Linked DNA regions of Homo sapiens: regions 1 and 2 are each linked to region 3. Evidence: promoter capture Hi-C in human tissues and cell types (Jung and others, 2019). All regions are on one chromosome and are shown on one strand. The core of a region is centred on a gene start or on the middle of the fragment in contact, and the rest is flanking DNA. Distances in the headings are between cores, read along the strand shown.

Region 1 (4,198 bases), core at 865-3,364, 220 kb after region 3:
CTGGTCTGGCATTTAACTACTTGAATTCAAATTCCAACTCATCTCTTACTAGATGTCAGGCCTCAGGGAGTTACTTAACTTGACTAAGGCTCACGTTCTTCAAGTGTGAATTAAGGACAATAAGAATCCCTAGCTCACCAAATTATGTGAGGATTAAAGAAGATAATATATGTATTATGTTTAGCCTAGAGCTCAATCAACATTAGCATTGGCGACTAGGGTTATCAGGCATTTGCTAGTAAGCCAGAGAGCCCAGCATTTTAGCCTCCTCTTTGATAAAATAAAAATAAAAACCAGACACATAAATGTTCTTTTTCCTAATCATTAAAAAAAAACCTGATTGTGTATCAGGGTTTTCTGCATGTTTGGTGGATGTAAACCAACTGAAATATGTTTCCTGCTTTTGTAGAGAGGGAAACAGGAACATGTCTTTGGGTTGGATTCTTGGTTCCAGACCCATTTTAGTGAACCCTCTGGATCCTGCGCTTTTAAGGCAAGCACCTTTCGTTGTCCTTGGGAGCAGTGCTCACTCATCCTTGGAAGCACATATCATGGTGGTGAACAAATCACTGAGTCTGTCTCCATTTCCAGGAACTGCTCCTACATCAGGCACAGGGACGATGCCTGTATTGTTCACTGCCCAGCCCAGTGCCTTGCATATAGTAGAGGCTCAATTAATAAGTGAATGATCCACATGCAAATACTTGTCGTATTAAGCTTAATGTTGTAAATGGCATGTTTTTCTTTTTTTTCCTTTTTTTTTTTTTCTGAGACACAGTCTTGCTCTGTCACCAGGCTGGAGTGCAGTGGCGCGATCTCGGCTCACTGCAACCTCCGCCCTCCAAGTTCAAGTGATTCCCCTGCCTCAGCCTTCTGTGTAGCTGGGACTACAGGCACGTGCCACCACGCCCAGCTAATTTTTTTTTTTTTTTTTTTTTTTTTGAGACAGAGTCTCGCTCTGTCGCCCAGGCTGGAGTGCGGTGGTGCAGTCTCGGCTCACTGCAGCCTCCACCTCCAAGGTTCAAGCAGTTCTCTCCCGAGTAACTGGGATTACAGGTGCCAGCCACCACGCCCGGCTAATTTTTGTATTTTTAGTAGAGACAGGGTTTCACCATCTTGGCCAGGCTGGTCTTGAACTCCTGACATCGTGATCCACCCACCTCGGGCTCCCGAAGTGCTTGGATTACAGGCGGGAGCCACCGCGACGGCCCACTCAGCTAATTTTTTGTATTTTACTAGAGATGGAGTTTCACCATGTTGGCCAGGATGGTCTCGATCTCTTGACCTTGTGATCCGCCGCCTCGGCCTCCCAAAGTGCTGGGATTACAGGCGTGAGCCACCGCGCCCGGCCAAATGCATGCTTTTAGAGGTAGGGTACACATTTACAAAAAGATTCCCCTCCTCACCCCTGGGAACCCTATCATTATCCTCGCAAAACTTTACATCATTCAAATGTTTCTTAAAGAGTTTTAGAGCTCTTGTTATAGAATTATAGAACTGTATCAAAATGTAAAGTACAGGCAGTCTTTATACATTGGCTCTGATAAACTAATCCTTCCCAGTGGCTTTTAGCCACTCGTTTCAGATGTCCACCGTCGCAGGGGCCCTCCTCCAGCTTCTGCCTTTTTGGTGTGGTGACCCCAAGTGGCCACACTCTGTAAGTGCAAGAGAATAAACAAAGCCCAGCTGGTCTGGGAGGATTCCTGCTGTAAAACCCTGTGCAGGAATCGGCTGTTCCATAAAGATCTGGACCCCACGGTGGAGAACAATAGAAGGAAATTTGAAATTGAAGCCAAATAAAATCAGTTTTTTTCTAAAATACGGGCCAGTCCTCAGAGGAGTTCAAAAGCAACTAGCCCCGGGTTTTGTTCATTCAACAACTATTTTTATTAAATGTTTGCTGTGTACCATGTTCATGTATTAAGCTCTCAGACAGGGCTGGCTCATGGTGTGTGACCTACGCAGTTGCCTTTGGTTCAATACCCTGTCATCACCATCTTGTAATTCTTAATAATTTTTGAAAAAGGAATCTACATTTTCATTTTGCCCTGGGCCCCACAAATTATGTTGCCAACCCTGCCCTCAGAAAAATGTCCTGAAAGCCCTCAAAACTAAACATTTTAAAGTCCACTGAGCAGTTAAAGAACAATATCATTTTCTCTGAGTTCCATTCTCTCTTTCCTTCAAATAACACACCCCCCACCCCACCAACTCCACCACCACCACCAGTTTATAAGACAAGCAATTGTCCCTGCTCCCTACTCTTACCTTCCTTCTCCTTGTTGGTTTTCTTATTCGTCATCCTGTTCAATGCACTCTCTATTCCTCTCTCTTTCCCTGCTTAGCCTTCCTTTACTGCCCTTTGCCCTTTCTCCCTTTCCTCTCCCTTGTCCGATTTTTCTCTCTCCTCTTGGCAAAATAGGATTTGAAATGTAGCTAATGAAATGATGATGATGATGATGATGATGATGATGATGACAGCTGACATTTACTCCCTGGCTAGGGATATTAGCATCCCTAAATCTTCCTATTCCTTACCCTTTTTTTTTTTTTTTTTTCTGAGACAGAGTCTCGCTCTGTTGCCCAGGCTGGAGTGCAATGGTGTGATCTCAGCTCACTGCAACCTCCACCTCGCGGGTTCAAGCAATTCTCCTGCCTCAGCCTCCTGAGTAGCTAGGATTACAGGCGTGCACCACCACACTCGGCTAATTTTTGTATTTTTAGTAGAGACAGGGTTTCACCATGTTGGCCAGGCTGGTCTCGAACTCCTAACCTCATGATCTGCCTGCCTCGGCCTCCCAAAGTGGTGGGATTCCAGGCGTGAGCCACTGCACCCGGCCTGGTTTTTATTCTTCATAGCACTTATTAACACTTTTTTTTTTGGTGTATTTCTGGCTCTTTTCACTAAAATACAAGCTCCCTGTGAGCATGGACTTTCCAGATCTTGATCTTGCTGTATCAACGGCACCCAGACCACTGCCTGTCACATTGTAAATGTGCCATTATTATTTATTTACTAAATGAATGAGTGAATGAGCATTTGCTATGAGACATTACATTTCATTAATACATTTCATGCCTAATTCAACTAATCCTTTCAACAGCTCTATTAGTAATTATAAAGGCAGAATTTGAACCCATATCCTTCTGGTTCCAAAACCCATTCACTTAACCACTAAATAAGCAAAACTGTCCCCCTGGTTGGAATATTTGGCTCCTAAACATAAAAATGTTTTTAAAGTTTTATCTAGTGTTGCAATAAACATCACATAGCTAATGATATCACTTAAATGTCCAGCAAAAATTGGGTAACTGTATAGCCGAGTCTCATAAGACATTCCAGGCTTTTTGGAGGTGCAACAGATGCAGCAAGCCTCTGTCACAGTTAGGCCCAAATTTATTTCTGAACAATTTCTCTGGACTCCATTTTTATGTAGAACGCTATACTATTCTCATTAGAGATTAAATCAGGTCATGATATTGCATTAGTATAAAATATAAGCATTAGTGAATGTGATTTTTCAAATTGACACCTCTCTCCCCTGCATATAATGCAACCAAAATAAAATTTACATTACTGTAAGCCAGGCACAGAAATGCAAATACTGCATGATCTCACTTATATGTAGAATCTAAAAAAGTTGAACTCAGAGAAGTCGAGAGTTGAATGGTAGTTACCAGAGGCTGAGGAGAGACATAGATGGGAAAAGGAAAGATGTTAATCAAAGATGTTAATCAAAGTTTCAGCTGGACGGGAGAAATAAGCTTTGGTGATCTACTGCACAGAATGGTGGCTATAATTAATAATAATAATATACTGCGTATTTCAAAATTGCTCAAAGTAGATTTTAAGTGTTCTCACCACAAAAAGTATGTAAGGTGATAGATATAATAATTAGCTTGATTTAATCATTCTACACTGTAAACAGACAGTGAAACGTCACGTTATACCCTATAAATAGGCTGGGTATGGTGGCACACACCTGTAATCCCAGCACTTTGGGAGGCCAAGGCAGGCGGATTTCTGGAGTTCAGAAGTTCAAGACCAGCCTGGACAACATGGCGAAACCTCGTCTCTACAAAAAATACAAAAACTAGCCAGGCATGGTGGCACACACCTGTGGTTCCAGCTACTCAAGAGGCTGAGATGGGTGGATTGCTTGAGCCCAAGAGGCCACTTGAGCCAAGACTGTGCCAC
Region 2 (4,221 bases), core at 1,071-3,570, 140 kb after region 3:
ATATACACATATATACACACATACACATATGTGCATACATATTCACACAAATATATTACATATATACTACATATATATTTGTGTGACTATGTACATATGTATCACCTCATCCTCAGATATACAGCAGAAATGTACATAGTGGCTGGGTGTGGTGGCTCACGCCTACAATCCCAGCACTTTAGGAGGCCAAAGCAGAAGGACCACTTGAAGCCAGGAGTTCAAGACCAGCCTGGACAACACGGCAGTTCCCCATCTCTACAAAAAATATAAAAAAATTAGCTGGATATAGTATATACAGGCATGTGCCTGTAGTTCCAACTACTTGGGAGGCTGAAGCAGGAGGAGCATTTGAACATAAGAGTTTGAGGTTACAGTAAGCCATGATTATGCCAACTGCTCTCCAGCCTGGGTGACAGAGTAAGACCCTGTCTCAAAAAAAAAAAAAAAGAAATGCACATAGTAAACACTCAGCTGTTCACCCATTCACAAATGCAGTCATGAGCACATAGTCGTATGGTTCAACTAAAAATTCTTACTGCATCCCAATTATGTCCTTAGAAAAAGAATTTAAAATCTCATTGGCAAGGCAAAACTTATAAATTAATTGGGAATAACAAGGTTCCTATGATAGTAGCTAAATTTAAAAAAAAATTGAAAAGGACGATAAAAGGTAAGTTCAATAGAAGATTCTGTGGAGATAATTTTATTTATTTTTTTGAAATGGGCGTCTCACTCTGTCACCCAGGCTGGTATGTAGTGACATGATCACAGCTCACTGCATCCTCAACCTCCTCTGGCTCAGGTGATTCTCCCACCTCAGCCTCCCCAGTAGCTGGGAATACAGGCACTATGCCTGGCAATTTTTTTGTATTTTTTGTAGGAAAAGGGTTTCGCCATGTTGGCCAGGCAGGTCTCAAACTCCTGGCCCAAACAATCTGCCCCCCTCGGCCTCCCAAAGTGCTAGCATCACAGGCATGAGCCACGGCATCAAGCCCTGTAGAAAAAACTTTCGAAAGCAATAGGATGCCGGGCATGGTGGCTCACACCTGTAATCTCAGCACTTTGGAAGGCTGAGTGAGAGGATAATTTGAGGCTAAGATAATCTGAGTTCAAGACCAGCCTTGGTAACATAGTGAGACCTCTGTCTCTATAAGAAATTTTTTTTTTTTAATTAGCCAGGCATGGTGATAGTGTGCTTTTAGTCCTAGCTACTTGGGAGACTGAAGTGGGAAGAACACTTGGACCCAGAAGTTGCAGGCTGTAGTGAGCTATGACTGTACCACTGCACTCACGGGCAACACAGTGAGCCCTATCTCTAAAAAAAAAAAAAGAAAGAAAAAAAGAACGAGAGAATGAATTTGGATATAGAAGATGAAAGAAAGAAAATATTTAAGGATAATTTCAAGGTTTCTAGACTTACTAGAACTTTTTTTTTTTCCATTAAAAGACTAATCATAGTAGAGTTATTTTTGTAGTATTTCAGCACCAATTTTTTAAATAGGTAGACTATCCAGAATTAGGCCAAATGACAAGACATTACGAAATAAAAATCTGACAACAGGTAATTCAAATATAAGTAATCACTATAAAAATAATTAGATTTGGGCGCAGTGGCCCACACCTGTAATCCCAGCACTTTGGGAGGCCGAGGTGGACAGATCACCAGGCCAGGAGTTCAAGACCAGCCTGGCCAGCATGGTGAAACCCCGTCTCTAATAAAAATACAAAAATTAGCCAGCCGGGCATGGTGGCGCATGCCTGTAATCCAGCTACTTGGGAGGCTGAGGCAGGAGAATTGCTTGAACCCAGGAGGCAGAGGTTGCAGTGAGCCAAGATAGCGCCACTGCACTCCAGCCTGGGCGACACAGTGAGAACCCGTCTCAAAAAAAAAAAAAAGAAAGAAAAATTAGATTTACACTTTTTCTACAGATTCCACTACCAGAGATTTAGGAATATAATCTACAATCATGTTTATCTGTCAATTATCTAGCCCAACATTTCAGATGACTCCATTGTCCTAATAGCTCAATACAATCTGACTGACTTTGTCAACTTGAAATAAAAATATATACAGAAAAATTTCCTAGCAAAAAAATTTATTTGAGAATAAACAAAGAAATAGGATTAAAATCCAGGACATGCACAGACCAGGGTGGTCTCTGGCATGTCTGCAGAACAAAGGAGGTTAGGGTTTTACCGGGGAGACAGATTGTTATGCAAATTGTTTTGAAAGAAAGTTCACTGGTGAGTGTCACTAGTTGCTAGAAAGGACTTGTAATTTTGGAGTTATGGTTAGGCCCTTACAGTTTTGGATTGACCTTGTAAGATAGTTGTTTGTTTTTTTTCTTCTTTTTGAGACAAGGTCTCACTCTGTCTCCCAGGCTGGAGTACAGTGGCACAATGTCGGCTCACTACAACCTCCACCTCCTGGGTTCAAGCAATTCTCATGTCTCAGCTTCCCAAGTAGCTGGGACTAGAGGTGCCCACCACCATGCCCAGCTAATTTTTATATTTTTAGTAGAGACAGGGTTTCACCATGTTGGCCAGGCTGGTCTTAAACTCCTGCCTCAAGTGATCCACCCACCTCAACCTTGCAAAGTGCTGGGATTACCTGTGTGAGCCACTGTGCCTGGCCTGTTTTGAAACAGACAAGTGTTCACATGTAAGCGGCTAGCTGTCCTTGTAGGGCTGATGCAGTAAGCTATGGTTTCAAAAAATTTATTGTGATAGCTCCTGATACCAGGCTAATCGTCCATGACAGCCCTCCCTTCACGGCCTTCTCAGCCTCCATTTTGTCAAAGTTTGACACACTGACTCCATTTTGACTCTGACAACTTTTACAACATAAATTTATTTTGCATACAGGAAGACTAAATCACACAGATGTACATTACAATCCAAAAGAAAAAAAATTATCTAATAATAGAAAAGAAAGAAAGACACCTATCACCTCTTCTTCATTCTCATCCTCTTCTTCAAGTGAATGTTTCAATACAGTTTCATTCCTTTCCTCTGGAATTCTATCACGATTTATATACATATTTTTCCCAAATTTCATTTTATTTTGTTTCTGCAGAGAAACACTGAAGGTTTTCTGATGCTGTGCCTATTTTGAAGAGAGAGAAATTCAGATTATTTCAAAACTGATTATGGTCAAAATTGGTTCAAAAAATTTGTTCATAGTTTTTTTTTATCTTTTTAATGTCTGTAGGTATAGAATTTGTAGTGATGTCTCCTTTCTTATTCATGATTTTTGCCTTCTCATTTCCTTTTTTTAAAAAAAAAAAAAAAAAAAAAATCAGGGTCTCACTCTGTCATCCAGGCTGGAGTACAGTGGCACCATCACAGCTCACTGCAGCTTCAACCTCCCCAGGCTGCAGTGATCCTCCTACCTCAGCCTCCAGAGTAGCTGGGACTACAGGAATGCACCACCACACCCAGCTAATGTTTCTTTGTTTTTTTGTTTTTTTTGTTTTTGTATTTTTTTGTAAAATGGGGTTTTGCCATGTTGCCCAGGCTGGTCCCAAACTCCTGGCTCAAGCAATCCGCCTGCCCCAGCCTCCCAGAGTGCTAGGATTACAGGTGTGACCCACCGCACCCAGCTTCTCTTCCTTTTTAAACAGTCTTAAAATTATGTAGAACCATGTATTTCCTCAGTTGGCATATTGTGTGTTGGCAAGGGGGACTGGCCAACACTCTTTGGCCATACTCCCAACTTCCTGAATTAGCCATTAACCTCACAGAAGGAACTATAACATCAAGTTGCAAGCTTATTTTACTTCCCACTGAAAATGCCCACAGTTTGTGAAGACTAAGAATGTAGAAGCTGTTATCCCACAATTGATCATTGACAAAAAACAACATTTACACAGAATAAAAAGTTGAGAACCCTCATACTTTTAGGCATTTTAGTAATACTTCCCTATCAGAACTTCATTACCAGAAATAGAAAAAAATATAAACTTAATTCCAGGATTTTAATTTCCTTACACACTGCGAGACATTCTCTCTGTTTTGATGGGTCAGATTGTTGCTATTTTGTTCTGTTAGCACATAGAAAGGTCGTGCACTGGCTATTTTAGGTGAGTTCTCTCTAAGGCACATGTAACTGCCAATCAGCCCTTCTCTACACTTAGGTTATCAGACCATGCAAGTTGCAGTAATCTGGCTCCTCTCTTACCTAGACTTTGATCCTGGCTGCCCCCTAGAGGCTGGTACTGG
Region 3 (3,828 bases), core at 956-3,455:
GCCGTACCTTGCGTAGGCCACTGAAGGGAACGTCCAGAGGCAGTGAGAAGAGGTTCTCCACGAGCTGCTCGAAGGTCCGGGCCAGCGTGGCGCACTGCGCCTCGTCCAGCCGCAACCCCAGCAGGATGCGCGCGGCCATGCGGAAGGTGAGCGCTTTGGAGGCGTCGTAGACTGAGACCGGCCCGCCCGCCGCGCACCAGGAGCGCACCTCATGCCGCAGCGCCCCCTGCAGGCGCGGCACGTAGCGCTCCAGCGCGGCGCGGCTGAACACGCGCGCCAGGACCTGTGGGAGCGCGCGTGATCAGCGCTGGCGGCGGTCTGGCCTCATCTGCTTGGCGATTCCGGAGTAGCCAGAAGGCCAGTTCCGGTCCTTTCTCCCTCTTCCAAGCGGCCCAGACCTAAACTTCCTGGCTTTTGCTTTCGCCATTTCCCCCAGTTCTGCTCTGATGCACACAGTCCCTCCCAACCATCCAGGCTCCAGCTGCCATCTCCTCTAAGAAGTCTTCCCTGGCCCCTTTCTAGGTCTGAGTCTCCAGCGCTTCTGCTATCACAGCCACGGAAGATGGGAGATGAAAGAATCTTTTAGCGCAGTCCTAACTTTATAAACCGAAGCTGAAGGTAACGGACCCGCCCAAGGCCACCCGCTAGTTACCAGGGACCTTGGTCGGGTTCACAGTGTATCCAACACCGGGGCCCCGGCCTGGCCCATGGCAGATGCCGGGGACCGCGGATCCGACGTATCTACGGTCCATTCCCGTTTCCACTCACCTTGCGCCGCCGCCGGTGCGGCTCGCCGACCGCACCTAGCAGTGTGTGCGAGCCCAGCAGGATGTGCGCACTCTGCGGCCACTGGCTGCGCACCAGGCGGTGCTCGCCCAGCAGGATGGTGCGCACGTTCTCCGCGCCGCTCACGCGGATCACTGGCCTGCCCAGCAGGTGCGTCTTGAACACTGTCCCATAGCGCTCTCGGCGAGAACTGTGGAAGCGCGAGCCCTGCGGGCGAGGCGGAGGGTGGAGAGCTGGAACTTCTGGGCCTGGGCTGGGATCTGACCCAGACCTTCCAGCTGCCTTTTGATCACAACTTCCTGTCCCTGGCTGGCGCGTTTACAAAACAAGATCCCCAGTGGGCCTGGTATCTACTCTACGGGAATGTACATGCTCCTGTTCCTATTGGTGAGATGAGGAAACAGACTCAGAGTGAAGAAGTGAGGGCCCAAGGGCTCACAGCTGGGCCAAGCTCCAGGCTCCTTTTCTACCCTTGCAGGACGTGCTCCTCAGACCCCTTCCTAAAACCCCTTATGTTTACCCCCTGCGTTGTGTCTGGGAGTTGCTCTGGGGGGAATTCCAGTGACTTGAGGTCCCTTCGAGGGAACGGAGTATCTAGGTAAAGGCGAGAGTTGTGCGCGCTTCCCGGGGTCGTGGGCGATGGGCAGGGACTGGCTACAAATCCCATGGGCATTGAGACTGAGGAGGGTCCAGTGGGAGCCGGGGGAAGAAGGGACCGTATTAGCGCTCGGGGTCGAAGGACTGCTCACCTGAACTAACCAGTGCAGCGTTTCGCCGAAGAAGGGCCACCCCATGGAGCCCTTGGGCAGAGGCAGGGTGGAGGCCCGGTCCCGGCTCAGCATCCAGCGGAGGGTCCAGAGGTGCTGGGCCAGGCTGAGCAGCAGGCCCGCGCACAGGAGAGCAGTGCCCGCCGCCCCCAGCACTGACAGGCAGCTCAGCCCCCAAGGGAACATGATGAGCCCGCGGGGGCCAGGCCGCTCAGAGCGCAGGGAGAGCAGGGGACGCAAGAACCGGGGCGCGAGCAGTGCGCAGTGCTCACCTGTTCCGTCCGCAAAAGGCCTGGGGTTTGGGGGCAAAGCCCGAGATTTATAAGCTCAGGCCAGAACTCTGTTCTAAAAACAGACGGACGGTGAAAGACTGCAGTGACCGTGCGCCCTTAGGGAACGTGCCTTCCTCGAGGCCGGCACGCTCAGGACTTTTTCCTGGCTCCTGGGCCCAAATGCCAGTCCCTCTCGAAGGTGCCTGCTGCCTCGGGAACGCTCACTCCCGGCTCCGCGGGGCACCTCCCACCTCCTCCCGGGCTCAGCACCCTTTGGATAGAAGAAGGGAAGGAGGGCGAAAGAAGAGCAACTCACCAGTGTTGCCAACCTGGTCTGCAGACCCCCGCCCCACCTGTCCCTCCTCCAGTCGTTTAACCCTTCTTGGCCCACGCTGGACACGTTTATATAGATATTGGCTCCCCCCCTACGGACCGATCCCGGTTCACACAACGTGACGTGTCTTTGCATATTTAAAGCGCTCCACGCAGAGTGGTGATTGGAGGCGGTGGGCAGCGGCGCGCTCACGGAGGGGCTCTGAGTAGGGAGTGGCAGGCGCCGGGGCGGCTCGAGCTGGGCTGGGGGCTCGCCCCGCGAGCGTCCTCGGGCGGGGCCTGCGGGTTCGCGCCAGAGCTTCCCCGCTCTTCGCAGGCGCTCAGAAAGTGGGCGAACCCAACGCGCAGAACTGACCCGGGCTTGCGCCCCGCAGTGCTCCTGGCCCACCCCCGGCCGCTGGCTCCCTCTGCCGTCCCCGCCCTCGAGCTTCTAGGTGCCTTTCTCTCGCCACTCCAAGGTGAAAGAACTGGGCTTTTCTCTCCTTTGCTCCGACTATTTCAGGGAAACTGCAGTCGTCGACGCCTGCGTTGGCATCGCAAAAGCCCAGGAGGGATAGCGCAGCCGAGATTCTCCGACAGCTCCCCACCTCTCCCGGCTCTCTGATCTACCACGTCAGGTATCCTTCCAAAGATGGCAGTTCCACTACTGCCCTAGGCTTCATAAAGACGTCCTAAGCCTCCAGAAGCGGATACCCACGAGCACCTTTCCGGTCTCAAGGACCGAATTCATCCTTCCCTGCACATCCTTCCCTCCCTCCCCCGAGTTTGCCCGACGACTCTTGTCAATCTACATTGTTGCGTTTTGGGCTTTGTGCGTCCCATTCAAGGGTTCCAAATGCCTCAGGACTCACTCGTTCTTGTCCCTACAGTGCAACCTGGGGTGTGTGTGGAGGGGTGCAGGGTGTTTATATTATTGGTAAGAGTAAAGAGGTCCCACAGTGGTCTCCTCCAGGCAGTGCAAAGGCAGTATCTCTCTGAATCCCGGGACGTCTCAGCCAAAGCAGGGAAGACACCCCAAGTACGCTGGAAGGCTGGGTAAGGCGCGAAGGGCAGCCCCATTCCAGTCTTCAAAGAGAGCTAGCTGTTCACCGCTCCTCTCCTCCAGATTTCACCGTGCCTGAAGAACTACCATGCTTTTCATGTAATATTTTTAAAAACATTAAATACTTTGGATTAAGAGATGATCGAGAGAACAAGTGCGCATATGTATATATATGTGTGTGTGTGTGTGTGTGTATGTATATATACTGTTTTGGTGCCACTCCCATTCCAGTAACTAGGAAATAATATGCCTTTTCTCCAGGAAGCACTTGTTTTAAATCAGTAAGCTCTGAATAGACAAAATAGTAATGCATTTTCAACAACTTGCTCAATATTTTTAATATTTCATCACAAAATCCAGAGATGTACATATAATTCTTTACACTTATTTTACAGAATCAGGCATAGTTTCTTACAGGCCTAAATCCTGAAAAGGCAAAGGGAAGATTCAGCATAAATACAACAAAGGGAGAATAAAGACTGGATTTATATTGCCATTTGGACCACGGAAACATACACAAAGGAAAATGTACATTTGTTTTAGGTTTTCCAGAGTTCATTTGGTTTGGCTTGTTTCCACAATGAGGATAAAGTACTGAAATCTGCTATTTGAAGAAAGTAACCTGACC

The links. The method cuts DNA at HindIII sites, captures the fragments that hold promoters and counts their contacts. A contact is called where the count stands out against the background at its distance.
Region 1: a fragment that was not itself captured here is called in contact with the fragment with the promoter of CYP26C1 in region 3 in 1 of the 25 tissues and cell types used here (heart right ventricle).
Region 2: a contact is called between a fragment that was not itself captured here and the fragment with the promoter of CYP26C1 in region 3, in 1 of the 25 tissues and cell types used here (mesenchymal stem cells).

The regions. Positions count from the first base shown.
Region 1 is chr10:92,840,721-92,844,918 of GRCh38, reverse strand. It overlaps a transcript of EXOC6 not described here. Among named protein-coding and RNA genes, the nearest start is that of EXOC6, 5.7 kb to the left of the region's middle. The HindIII fragment of the contact is 6,111 bases long and covers 1-4,198 here.
Region 2 is chr10:92,914,643-92,918,863 of GRCh38, reverse strand. It overlaps EXOC6 (exocyst complex component 6), which reads right to left. Exons shown (of 22, transcript NM_019053.6): 7 at 2,951-3,106. Among named protein-coding and RNA genes, the nearest start is that of EXOC6, 68 kb to the right of the region's middle. The HindIII fragment of the contact is 5,917 bases long and covers 1-4,221 here.
Region 3 is chr10:93,059,175-93,063,002 of GRCh38, reverse strand. CYP26C1 (cytochrome P450 family 26 subfamily C member 1) reads right to left here and starts at 2,205. Exons shown (of 6, transcript NM_183374.3): 1 at 1,536-2,205; 2 at 769-993; 3 at 8-283. The coding sequence starts at 1,739. EXOC6 (exocyst complex component 6) reads right to left here. Exons shown (of 22, transcript NM_019053.6): 22 at 3,513-3,828. RefSeq lists enhancers at 25-194, 205-324, 1,278-2,187. The HindIII fragment of the contact is 7,111 bases long and covers 1-3,828 here.